Linked DNA regions of Homo sapiens: region 1 is linked to region 2. Evidence: promoter capture Hi-C in 16 types of primary human blood cells and fetal thymus (Javierre and others, 2016). All regions are on one chromosome and are shown on one strand. Each heading gives the region's core, a stretch centred on a gene start or on the middle of the fragment in contact. The rest is flanking DNA. Distances are from core to core; before and after follow the strand shown. Region 1 has its middle 13 kb from the start of HNF1A-AS1. Region 2 holds the start of POP5 (POP5 ribonuclease P/MRP subunit).

Region 1 (6,339 bases), core at 2,328-4,827, 380 kb before region 2:
CAGTGGGTGGCTTCTGTACTCAGGGTTACCTCATGGTCCAAGATGGCTGCTGGACTCTAGCCATTATATCCAAATACCAGGTAGAATAGAGGACAAAAGCAGTGAACCTCAAGGCTGAGGCTCCTGGAAGCCTCATACACTTTTACCTACTACAGTCCATGGAACATAGTGTAGTCACGGGGCCACACCAAAATGCAAGAGAGACTGGGAAATGTCTTCATTCCAGGCAGCACGATCTGAATCTGTTATTAAGGAAAAAAATAGGAAGAATGGATATTGGGTATGTAACTAGCTACAAATGATCATGGCATCTCCGTTTATTGAGCACTTATTATGTGCTAGACACAGTCCTAAGTACTTAATAAATGTGGCCCGGTCAAACAAGATTGCCCTCTGCCCCCAAGATTGCCCTCTGCCCCTTCTGTAGCCAGGGACACACACACACACGCACGCACGCATGTACAGGAGCCAGTTGGGCCTGGCCCCCTTCACTGCGGGTACTGACATGCGAAGTCTTTGTCATATGACTCTGAGCAGGGAGGGAGCAGTGTCCTCTTAGCATAATAAGATCAGGATTCATAACATTAAATCAAAGTGCTGTAACTCACAGGAATATCAGTTTCCTATTCAGAAGATAGAGGAGAATGTTTTCAGAAGGAAATTGAACTTTATGGTTTGAAACACGTTTAATTTTAAATATGTTGAGAGAAAACCAGCTACAGCCTGGCATGGAAACTCCTGTTGTTCCAGCCAATGCCTTGGAGAACCAGAGACCACGCCCCCTTCCTCCCTGCTGAGGAGTCAACGAACGAGACCAAAGTCCCCTGTTCTTCTCTGCAGTCAGCAGAAATCAGAGAAGAACATCTTTAGACAGTCAGCAGACTCAGGAACTGTGTACTCTAGGACTTTTTAAAAATTTTTTTACTTTTATTTTTTTGAGACGGAGTCTCGCTCTGTCGCCCTGGCTGGAGTGCAGTGGCGTGATCTCAGCTCACTGCAACGTCCACCTCCCAGGTTCAAGCTATTCTCCTGCCTCAGCCTCCCGAGTAGTTAGGATTACAGGCGCCTGCCACCACACCCGGCTAATTTTTGTATTTTTAATAAAGACAAGGTTTTGCCATGTTGGCTAAGCTGTTCTCCAACTCCTGACCTCAGGTGATCCACCTGTCCCAGCCTCCCAAAGTGCTGGGATTACAGGCATGAGCCACCGCACCCAGCCTGGGACTTTTTTATTTTTACAGAGATGGGTGATGATTCATGGGACGTTGGAGATGCCCCAAGACTGGAGATATGATTTGGGGGATCCTGAGGATTGGTGACCTAGGCAAAACTTGGGGAGGCTGGATCCTGGGTATGGAGTAGCCAATCTGAATAAAGACCCCTGCGCCAAAGGTTGGCACAGAAATAGTGGTCTTGCCAGCCTTCAGGGGAGGCCCACACCAGTCCTAGACTGCCTGCTTCTGGAAGGAATCAACTCTTACATGTTTATGCCATTTCACTTTGGGTTTTCTGTTCTATACAGCTAAACCTAATACTGGACTGATACATTATTATTATTTTCAGAACCAACCAAAGCTGGAATAACACTCTTGATAATGCCAGTTTCCTGGTCCTAGAAGTGAGCTAACAGGCTTTTCAGAGATGACGAGATGTGAAATCCCTCACTGATTCATGCTTCATGTGTTTAATGAGCACCCACTAGGTGCTAAGCCTTGTTCTAGTCAGGAATAAAACCGATACTTCACGAGGTTTACAGCCTGGTGGAGGAGACGTGTATCAGGCTAGTGCGTGTAGACCAAAGGCCAGAGGCGCCCACTCAAGCATTTCCACCTACATGAGAATCCCATAGTCTTTTTAGAAGAATAGAAATAGTAAGCCCTGAGTCACGACTGCATTTGAATGCCACCTTACCTGAAGTCTGAATCAGGGATAATTTGATTTCAGAAGAATAAAATGAGGCTCCTAACACCTGTCCCAAATTGCAAGGAAATGAGGGTATTCTCTTTTTTTTTTTTTTTTCTGAGATGGAGTCTCGCTCTATCGCCCAGGCTGGAGTGCAGTGGCGCGATCTCGGCTCACTGCAAGCTCCACCTCCCGGGTTCACGCCATTCTCCTGCCTCAGCCTCCTGAGTAGCTGGGACTACAGGCGCCCGCCACCACGCCCAGCTAATTTTTTGCATTTTTAGTAGAGACGGGGTTTCACCGTGTTAGCCAGGATGGTCTCGATCTCCTGACCTCGTGATCCGCCCGCCTCGGCCTCCCAAAGTGCTGGGATTACAGGCGTGAGCCACCGCGCCCAGTTGAAATGAGGGTATTCTCTAAGAGGCAGATGACAGAACCTACTGCAATGAATTTGTCAAGCTCAAGGCTAAGGACACAGTCCCTCCACAAGGCAGCCTTCACTTCAAATGCCAGGTGCAACTGGGGATTCCTGGGCCACCCTCACTTCTGACCGCTTGGCTGCATTGAGGGTTCCCACTACCCCCTGTGGTTCAATAATTCACTAGAATGACTCATGGAACTCAGGAAAGTGCCCCGCCTCATAACGACAGTTTTTATGATAGCAAACAGACACAGATCAGAACCAGCCACAAGAAAGGACATAGAGGGTGAGGTGCGGAAGGGGTTCAAGTGCAAAGCTCCTAGTTACCTTCTCTCCAGACAGTCACCTCCCCCCAGCTATGATGCGTGATGACACTCAGAGAATACTGCTAACCAGAGAAGCTCCTGAGGCTTTGGTGTCCAGCGTTTTTGGGGGTTTTGTTTTTGTTGTTGTTGTTTCTGAGATGGAGTCTCGCTCTCGTCGCCCAGGCTGGAGTGCTGTTGCGTGATCTCAGTTCACTGCAACCTCCACCTCCTGGGTTCAAGCGATTCTCCCGCCTCAGCCTCCAGAGTACGAGTAGCTGGGATTACAGGCATGCACCATGCCCAGCTGATTTTGTATTTTTAGTAGAGACAGGGTTTCACCATGTTGGCCAGGCTGATCTCAAACTCCTGACATCTGGTGACCCGCCCCCCTCAGCCTCCTGAAGTGCTGGGATTACAGGCATGAGCCACTGCCAGCCAGTGTCCAGCGTTTTTTAGTGGGGCTTGATCCCTTACTGCCAGTGTGGCTGACCTTTCATCTCCAGTCTCTCCTGAGCTAACTCTTGTGTATCCAGCTCATCTGGAGGTTGGAACTGATACAGGATGTTCCAAAGCCTTCATTACAGATCACATTGTTAGACTATCTGGTGGCCAAAGGCCCCAGGCAAACACAGACACTTCCATCAGACAGGACGTTAAGGGGCCTAGAGATCACCTCCCAGCAACTGAAGGCAAAGATAATCCTCCTACTGTACATCCTTTTTTTTTCTTTTTTTTTTTTTAAGAGACAGGGTTTCATTCTGTCGCCCAGGCTGGAGTACAGTGACACACTCATGGCTTGCTGCAGCCTCGACCTCCTGGGCTCAAGCAATCCTCCTGTAGCTGGGACTACAGGTGTGCACCACCACACCCCGCCAACTATACATCCACCACCACCCTGTCCTCTCAGCCCCCAAAGTCATGAGGCTTTGACTAGGTATCAGGATGTCTTCAAATGAAAATTAATGAAAACAGCGGGCCCGGTGGCTCACACCTGTAAGCCCAGCACTTTGGGAGGCCGAGACAGGTGGATCACCTGAGATCGGGAGTTCAAGAACAGCCTGATCAACATGGAGAAACCCTGTCTCTGCTAAAAATACAAAAAAAGTAGCTGGGCATGATGGCACATGCCTGTAATCCCAGCTACTTGGGAGGCTGAGGCAGGAGAATTGCTTGAACCCGGGAGGTGGAGGTTGTGGTGAGCCGAGATCATGCCATTGTACTCCAGCCTGGGCAACAAGAGTGAAACTTCGTCAAAAAAAAAAAAAAGAAAAAAAGAAAAGAAAATTAATAAAAACAAAAATCCAAAGTTGGACACACACACAGAGAACACCTTAGGACAATAGAGGTACACCGTGGAGTGCTGCAGCAGCAAGCCAAAGATTGCCAAGGATTACCAGAGACGTGAGACGTTGGAAAGGGCAAGAGTGGAATCTCCCCTCTCCCCCAAGTTTGAGAGGGGGCCAAGCCTTACCGACACCTTAATTTGAGGCCTCTAGTCTCTAGAAATGCAATGTGCAAGGCGGGGCGCGGTGGCTCACGCCTGTAATCCCAGCACTTTGGGAGGCTGAGGCGGGCCTTAAGGTCAGGAGTTCAAGACCAGCCTGGCCAACATGGTGAAACCCTGCCTCAAAATGCAAAAAGTAGCCAGGCGTGGTGGCATGTGCCTGTAATCCTAGCTACTCAGGAGGCTGAGGCAGGAGAATCACTTGAACCCAGGAGGCAGAGGTTGCAGTGAGCCGAGATCACACCAGTGCACTCCAGCCTGGGCAACAGCGTGAGACTCCATCTCAAAAAAAAAAAAAAGGGCCGGGTGCAGTGCTCACGCCTGTAATCCCAGCACGTTGGGAGGCTGAGGTGGGAGGATCACCTGAGGCCAGGAGTTCAAGACCAGCCTGGCCAATATGGTGAAACTCTGTCTCTACTAAAAATTCCAAAAAAATTTAGCAGGGTGTGGTGGCGCATGCCTGTAATCCCAGCTACTCGGGAGACTGAGACAGGAGAATTGCTTGAACCCGGGAGGTGGAGGTTGCAATGAGCTGAGATGGCGCCACTGCACTCCAGCCTGGGAGACAGAGTGAGACTCCGTCTCAAAACAAAACAAAACAAAAATGCGACGTGCAGTGATGTGCTCCAGCTGGTGTGATCCCCTTGGGGATGTGGCAATGGATGGGCATCCCCAGACTTGATGATCATCCCTTTGTCTCTTACCAGCAATCCCCAAACCAATTCACAAGTTCTGTTTTGTTTTGGTTTGGTTTTTTGTTTGTTTTTTGAGACAGAGTCTCACTCTGTCGCCCGGGCAGGAGTGCAGTGACATGATCATATCTCACTGCAGCCTCAAACTCCCAGGCTCAAGTGATCCTCCCACCTCAGCCTCCCTAGTAGCTGGGACTACAGGTGTGCACCACCATGCCTGGCTAACTTTTTTCATTTTTTGTAGAGATGGGGGTCTCCCTATGTTGCCCAGGCTGGTTTCGAACTCCTGGGCTCAAGTGATCCTCCCATCTCAGCCTCCCAAAGTGCTGGCATTACAGGCGTGAGCCACCGTGCCCGGCCACAAGATATTTTTTAAGCATGGAGGTTTCTGTGCATTGGATTCCCCTCTTTGAGCTTCACCATATATATTTGTCCAAGGGCAGGGAGATCCGGTGTAATCTGCTTACACAATATTCCTGGAGAAGTTCTTCTTTCAGTAAATACTTGTACATCTCTGCAGAGTGACAGCAGGTTCTCCAGCAAACACCTTGGGGAGCCCAACCCTTTCCTGGGAATGCCCCTGTGTTAATGGGAATCAAAGCTGAGAGCAGGTGGGGAGAGTACATTCTTGGCTTATCAGCTTCCAACAGAAAGGGGAAATAAAAACAGATGCAATCTTTTATTGCAAAGGGATGGGTGCCTCTAAGATCAGATAAAGCCCATATAGGATTATGCAGAAACTGGTGTAAATTTGCAGGTCATCAAGACTCAATGTCCCCTCCCTCCCCACACTGTCCACCTCTGGACCATTTTGCACTTTATATTTTCTGAGAAAGGAGGCAGAGGGGAAGAAGGGGTTCAAAGGTGTCAGCCTGGCTCCTGGTGACCAGCTCTGTTTAGCAGGAAGTTAGCTGGAACAACTGATTGAGCCCTGGGATAATCTATGCTGTCACTGTGGACACAGCGGAGCAGAGGGCACACACAGTGGAGGGCACACACAGCGGAGGACAGACACAGTGGAGGGCACACACAGTGGAGGGCACACACAGCGGAGGGCACACACAGTGGAGGGCACACACAGCGGAAGGCACACACAGTGGAGTTACCTCTGATCCCCATGCCCTACGGGGCTGCCACCTTCCTGCCAGGGTTTGGATCATCACAGTCATTTGCATCTTCACTCCACAGCGTGAGTGCACATACACATCTGTTTTATTGCATTTGGCCCTTATAGGAATGAGTGGGATATGGGGAAATGAAAAGGCTGAGACTGCGATAAAAAATGTAGCTCTTAGGCCAGGTGCGGTGGCACATGCCTGTAATCCTAGCACTTTGGGAGGCCGAGGTGGACAGATCACCTGAGTTCAGGAGTTTGAGACCAGCCTGGCGAACATGGTGAAACCCCATCTCTACTAAAAATACAAAAATTAGCCAGGCGTGGTGGTGGGTGCCTGTAGTCCCAGCTACTCAGGAGGCTGAGGCAGGAGAATCCCTTGAACTCGGGGGTCAGAGGTT
Region 2 (6,437 bases), core at 1,171-3,670:
AAATCCTGCACGGGAGAGCACCAACCGTGTTGACCAGAACAAGGAGTCAGCTGGCTTTGGGTTCGAATTCTGATCCTGCTCCTAACTGGATACGAGGCTTTGGTCTGAGCCCCAACTGCATCTATAAAATGGGCGAAGCATTGCTGTTGAAATGAAGGCTGGGAGGAGTGAAATTTCTATGAGGGGTGGAGCGCTCAGGAGTTGGGGGTGTCTTGCTCTCTCCGCGCACTGCGGACCTCTGGCGCCCCCTGTTGGCCAAAGGAGGATGTCGCAGACACTTTCTGGTGAAAAGTTGTTCTTGGGTGGGGAGTGCCGTCACTGTCACTGGTCCCTTGGCAGGGCCACGGCGTTCCCTCTTCCTATTCTTTTCTTCCCTACCTTCCCCCACATCCCTCCTTTAAGGTGGCCAAGAAGAGTGGGAGATGGGAAAATTCAGAACTCATTCCAGATCTTGCAAAAATAGGTTGTGAAAGCTGCCCCCATTACGGACCTCACAGGACCAGCCAAGGCCAAGACACTTCTACAAATAATCAGGGATGGGCATAAAGACTAAGCTACAAAGCCATGCATCAAAGTATTGGGTATAACAAGAAAATCTAGAAATAATGTAAACGTCTACCAAAGGGATACTGACCAACTTCACAATGGTACGTCCAAACAATGCAATACTGCACAGCTAAAAAACAGTATTGTCGCTGAAGAGCTGACATGAAAATATAGCCAAATGGCCAGGCGTGGTAGCTCACGCCTGTAATCCCAGCACTTTGGGAGGCCGAGGTGGGTGGATCACCTGAGGTCAGGAGTTCAAGACCAGCCTGGCCAACATGGGGAAACCCTGTCCCTACTAAAAATACAAAAATTAGCCAGTTGTGGTGGCACACACCTGTAGTCCCAGCTACTTGGGAGGCTGAGGCAGGAGAATCGCCTGAATCCAGGAGGCAGAGGTTGCAGTGAGCTGAGATCGTGCTCCAGCTTGGGCAACAGAGTGAGACTCCGTCTCAAAAAACTAAATAAATAAATACAAAAATTAGCTGGTCGTGGTGGCAGGTGCCTGTAATCCCAGCTACTCGGGAGGCTGAGGCAGGAGAATCGCTTGAACTCAGGAGGCAGAGGTTGCAGCCAGCCTCCTGGCTGCATTTATATAAAGTTTAAGAACAGGCAAAATTAATCTAGCAGGGTAGAAGTGGTAATAGTGGCTGATAGCAGTAAGCAATTTGACTGGAAGAGGGCTCAGGGAACCTTCTGGGATACTGGAAATGCTCTTTATTTTAATCTTGGAGGTGGTTATAGAAGTCTATCCATATGTAAAAATTCATTGAGATGAATACACTTAAGAATATGTACTTTATGTAATACCCCATAAGACATTTTTTTTAAAATACTTAAAAATAAAAGAAAAAACATAATTTAACAGAGGGCATAGTTCTCAAGCTGTTTTCTCTGTCTCAGGACCCCTTTACACACGTTACTGAGGGTGCCCAAGAGCTTTTAGTTTTGTGGGTTATATTTACTATGGACATTAAAGTTGAGAAACGTTTAAAAAACAATACACAATTCCTAGAGCAGTGACGTCATCACGTCAAGCAGCCTCTGGAAAACTTGACTGTTCACTCAGAGAGAATGAAAAAGACAAGTAACATCTTAGCATTATTATGAAAGTAATTTTGACTTCGGGGACTCCCAAATCGAGTGAATTTAGGAAATCTCAGTGGTCCCCAGACGGCACTTTGAGAACCACTGGCGCAGGGAGAAAATGACAGAAGAAAACACACTACACGACAACAGTTATTCTCTCTCAGTGCTGGGATTATAATTTATTTGCTTCTTTGTGCTTTTCTGTCAAAAAAAAAAGGTAAACGGAAATGGAAAATACAATGACCACGTATTGTTTCTGCGAGCAAAAAACGAGACGGCACACTCGCCTCCCTAAGATTGCTGAAAGGCCCAAACAGCAATAGCATATTTAGCTGTATGGAAGAATTAAACTGAGCTCAAACCTGAAAATAAAAGTCCGATTTCCCGTTTGTCAATGCCTGGGCTGTGAGGTGCAGGGTCTTGCCCTCAAAAGCTCCACCGTTCACCTTGGGGAGAGAATATACTCGCATACATAACTGTGGTGCAAGGTTCCCAGGGCCCCAAGGGTAGCGGCTACATCCTACACACTATTGTAAACTTCAGTGTGCAACAGAACCATCCATTACAGCTGCAAGGCGCTCCATCCCGGGGTTCAGCCCTCAAACTAGTCAGTGACCCTCCGCAGGACGCATGCGCGCTTACAAACGCAGTTGGGCGGGGCTTGAGAGAGCTGACAGACTTCGGCCTCTCAACTTTCTAGCTCCGCCCTAATATCCTGTCTCCTTCTCTGAATGGCTGAAAGGCTGCGGAAGCAAGCTTCCCATTGGCAGCGGACAGAATTCACATCCGGTTTGCACGCCGGACCGGAGAGCGCGGAGGCAGCCATGGTGCGGTTCAAGCACAGGTAAGCATTCCCTTCCAGACCCTCCCAGTGCCTTGCTGGGTCCTCGCGGCCCCGCTAGTGTCCACCTTCCTCTCGCCTGCCGCAGGTACCTGCTCTGCGAACTGGTGTCTGACGACCCCCGCTGCCGCCTAAGCCTCGATGACCGAGTTCTGAGCAGCCTCGTACGGGACACGATCGCCAGGGTGCACGGAACTTTCGGCGCAGCCGCCTGCTCCATCGGCTTCGCGGGTGCAAGGGCGCTGGGGGAAGAGGGGAACCCGGGAGGATGGCGGGATGTGGAGGGGGCAGGCGCCGGAGGAAGAAAGAAGGGGCACGAGTGGCCAAGCCCGTGCACCGTTTTTTGTAAGGTATCTCTTTAAGCGCCTGGGACCCCAAGCGAGAGTCCGAAATTAGCAGAGCGCTAAAAGGAGGGGCCCGAAGGCAGTGGGGCTTTGAGCTAGAAGCCTCTTTTTACCTGCTTGACAGGTAATTTCTGTAATTGGTTGTGATTGAATTTGATAGGGTAGAGAATTAAATGAGGGAAGCTGTGTATACTTCCTAGTAAGAGCTATTATATGACCGATTACATTAACATCATATGGAAAAAAATTGTCAAAAGTACTCCGGGAAAGCCCTTAAATAGTTGGTAAAGTACAGAACACATGATTGTCAATATATGTAAATACAGGATGAGCTAGGACAGAGGGGCCCTTCTTTCACACCACTTAAATTAGTTCCCACTTTAACCTTGTTTGAGATTGACTTCTGGAGAGTTAAATGCAGATAGACTTAACTCTCCTAAGTCAGGTGAGACTGAGAGCTGACTGCTACAATAATTACGGAGCCCAAATGCAGTAAAACAGCCTGTTTTTCAGGCAAGGGTTTTGTGGGGGTTTTTCCTAAATTAAAACGGATCGCCTCCTACCTGCTCCTATTTATTGAATTAACTAGTGAATTAGAAAGCATTTTCAATTCTAAATTCATTCACCAGTTCTGAGTGGTGTGCAACACAGTGGGTGTTTTGGCTTTTCTCTTTTACTCGCTGATAGATCTACGTGCCACTTGCCTACAACATACTTTTGGCACATAGTAGGCTCTGTTACTCCAAAGTTTTCCTTTTTTCGAGACAGTCTGGCTGTTGCCCAGGCTGCTGGAGTGCAGCAGCGAGATCGGGGGTCATTGCTGCCTCTGCCTCCTGGGTTCAGGCGATTCTCATGCCTCAGCCTCCTGAGTGGCTGGAATTACAGGTGCGCACCACCACACCCAGCTAATTTTTGTATTTTTAGTAGAGACGGGGTTTCATCATGTTGGCCAGGCTGGCCTCGAACTCCTGACTTAAAGTGATCTGCCCGCCTCAGCCTCCCAAAGTGCTGGGATTACAGGCGTGAGCCACCACACAGAGCAAAAGTTTTCCAAAATGATTTTTCTTTCCTGTTGTAGTTCGATATCTCAATGCCTATACTGGAATAGTGCTACTTCGATGCAGAAAAGAATTCTATCAGCTTGTGTGGTCAGCTCTTCCCTTCATCACATACTTGGAGAACAAAGGACACCGTTACCCATGCTTTTTCAACACATTACATGTGGGAGGTAGGAGTGAGGTGGTATGGCTACTGATTTTCAATTGGTGACACGTTCACAGTTCAGTCTAAACTGGTGGGTGGGTCTTGCTGCTGTCCCGCTAACAAGACACTTCCCCCTACCTCTGAAAGTCTGTAAGGTCGAGATCTTTCACAAGCTGTTGACCACAGTAACTCATATGCCAGGTACAATAAGAACATGTCAGAAGTTCCTAATTCAGTACAACAGGAGACAGCTGTTGATCTTGTTGCAGAACTGCACTGATGAAGGTAAGCAACACTAGCCCAGTGCCCACTGAGCAGTGACTGACCTTAAGCTGAAGAAATCACTCCCAAAGATATCTTTCATCCCTGTTATCTGCCTTCTCCAGGAGAGCGGGAAGCTATCCAGAAGTCTGTGACAAGAAGCTGCTTATTAGAGGAGGAGGAGGAGTCAGGTGAGGAGGCTGCAGAAGCAATGGAGTGAACCTCTGCTCCCCACACAGCTGGCTACACTGCTCAGGCTTCAGGCCCACTTGTTGAACAGAACAATCTGGGTAGCAACAGCATCTTCCACAGTTTTCCAAACTGGATAGCTGCCAACCAGCAGACATTACCCACTTGAAATGGAGTACTCAGTTAAACTGAAGTTGCCTTTACCTAGCATTCCCTGGTGAAGTGTTGCAGGTTGTGAACTCTGTAGACATCTTTATTGCTTGGCTAAGAGTAGATTTAATAAATGTATCTGGTTTCCGTGGCATTTAGCATACTTATATTACAGAAAGGGCTTATGGAGTCCATGCTTGGCCAAGTCTCTGTTCTCTCTCTATCCCTAGCCTTGGTGGGAAGACTGACTCCCTATGTGGTACTAGTTAAACTTTTTTTTTTGAGACAGTCTCAGTCTATCACCCAGGCTGGAGTGTAGTGGCCCAGTATCGGCTCACTGCAACCTCCGCCTCCTGGGTTCAAGCAATTCTCCCACCTCAGCCTTCCAAGTAACTGGGATTACAGACGTGCACCACCACGTCTGGCTAATTTTTGTATTTTTAGTAGAGACGGGGTTTTGCCATGTTGGCCAGGCTGCTGTTGAACTCCTGGCCTCAAGTGATCGGCCTACCTTGGCCTCCAAAAGTGCTGGGATTAAAGGGTGAGCCACTGTGCCTGGCCTAAATTTTCAATACTTAGCCTTCTACCTGAAGCTTTGTACCCCCGGCCCCATGATGGGCCCTAAGCAAGCCAAGTCATTTGGAATAGAAATATTAGTTGAGACACAGCAACTGAACTGGCAGAGATCTACAGCCCATCTCAGTACTGAACCACAGGGTCTTACAGATACCAGATTCCTTGCCAATAGTTAATCAGGTAACTTAAAAAATACAACTTTGGGCCGGGCGCAGTGGCTCACACCTGTAATCCCAGCACTTTGGGAGGCTGAGGCGGCCAGATCACAAGGTCAGGAGATCAAGACCATCCCGTCTAACGCAGTGAAACCCTGTCTCCACTAAAAATACAAAAAATTAGCTGGGCATGGTGGTGGGTGCCTGTAATCTCAGGTACTCAGGAGGCTGAGGCAGGAGAATGGCGTGAACCCGGGAGGCAGAGCTTGCAGTGAGCTGAGATCCCACTACTGTACTGCAGCCTGGGCTAGAGCGAGACTCTGTCTCAAACAAAAAATGCAACCTTTGCAGTTGGGGGGGGCGCGGGTGCTGGCCTCATCTGACATCATTACTGCATGGTCATGTAGCAGCTGTCCACTTAAGGAACTTAAGGTAGTTTTTGTAGTTCCGCTCTTATTGCGCCTGAATACAAGGCGCCCTGAAGACAAGTCAGACTGCCATACTCACAGGAAGTAGGAATGGCGGGAGACTTGTGATCCAGGTTTGATCTGCTACCTACTGACATTTCTGGGATCTGTTTTCTCCATAATACAATGGATGAGACTGAAAGTACCATACACATTTAACAGAAACACTGGTGATTCTGGCTTCAACATGCCCCCTCATCTGGAGGCCAGAACACCCTCATCCATCCAGGAAATTTCCTGATAGGATTTCTTTTAAAATGGCAGGTTAAAGCTAAGCCCAGCTCTAGAACCATTTAAACCTGACACCAGAAAAGACAGCCTACAATATCATAGTAGCTGTCACGTTAACCTATTCAAGAAATAACTTGTCTAGCTTACCTGTAATGAACTTAAAAAAACAAAAAGCTCACAATGCTTGTGCAGGTGATTTATTGCAACTATTTGCCTTCGCATTCTAATGCACCTAGAGGTCACTTTATTAAGCAGCAAAAGAATTCACATCAAATTCAGCTCAAACCAAGGCATAAGAAAACTGCTCTAGATGAGAGGGAGATGGTGGCAATGCTACCGCTTCAGATGGCCCTGCTCTCCTGCAGCTGTACCAGACTCCTCCTCC

What was found. Contacts are between HindIII fragments. The CHiCAGO score rates a contact against its expected background, and 5 or more counts as called.
Region 1: a fragment that was not itself captured here is called in contact with the fragment with the promoter of POP5 in region 2 in 6 of 17 cell types (M0 macrophages, M2 macrophages, total B cells and 3 more); the score reaches 7.8 in M0 macrophages.

The regions. Positions count from the first base shown.
Region 1 is chr12:120,956,250-120,962,588 of GRCh38, reverse strand. No RefSeq gene overlaps it. Among named protein-coding and RNA genes, the nearest start is that of HNF1A-AS1, 13 kb to the left of the region's middle. The HindIII fragment of the contact is 7,737 bases long and covers 1-6,339 here.
Region 2 is chr12:120,577,385-120,583,821 of GRCh38, reverse strand. POP5 (POP5 ribonuclease P/MRP subunit) reads left to right here and starts at 2,420. Exons shown (of 5, transcript NM_015918.4): 1 at 2,420-2,479; 2 at 2,565-2,707; 3 at 3,899-4,048; 4 at 4,225-4,308; 5 at 4,410-5,058. The coding sequence starts at 2,460. The coding sequence ends at 4,504. It overlaps RNF10 (ring finger protein 10), which reads right to left. Exons shown (of 17, transcript NM_014868.5): 17 at 6,234-6,437. The HindIII fragment of the contact is 2,825 bases long and covers 2,394-5,218 here.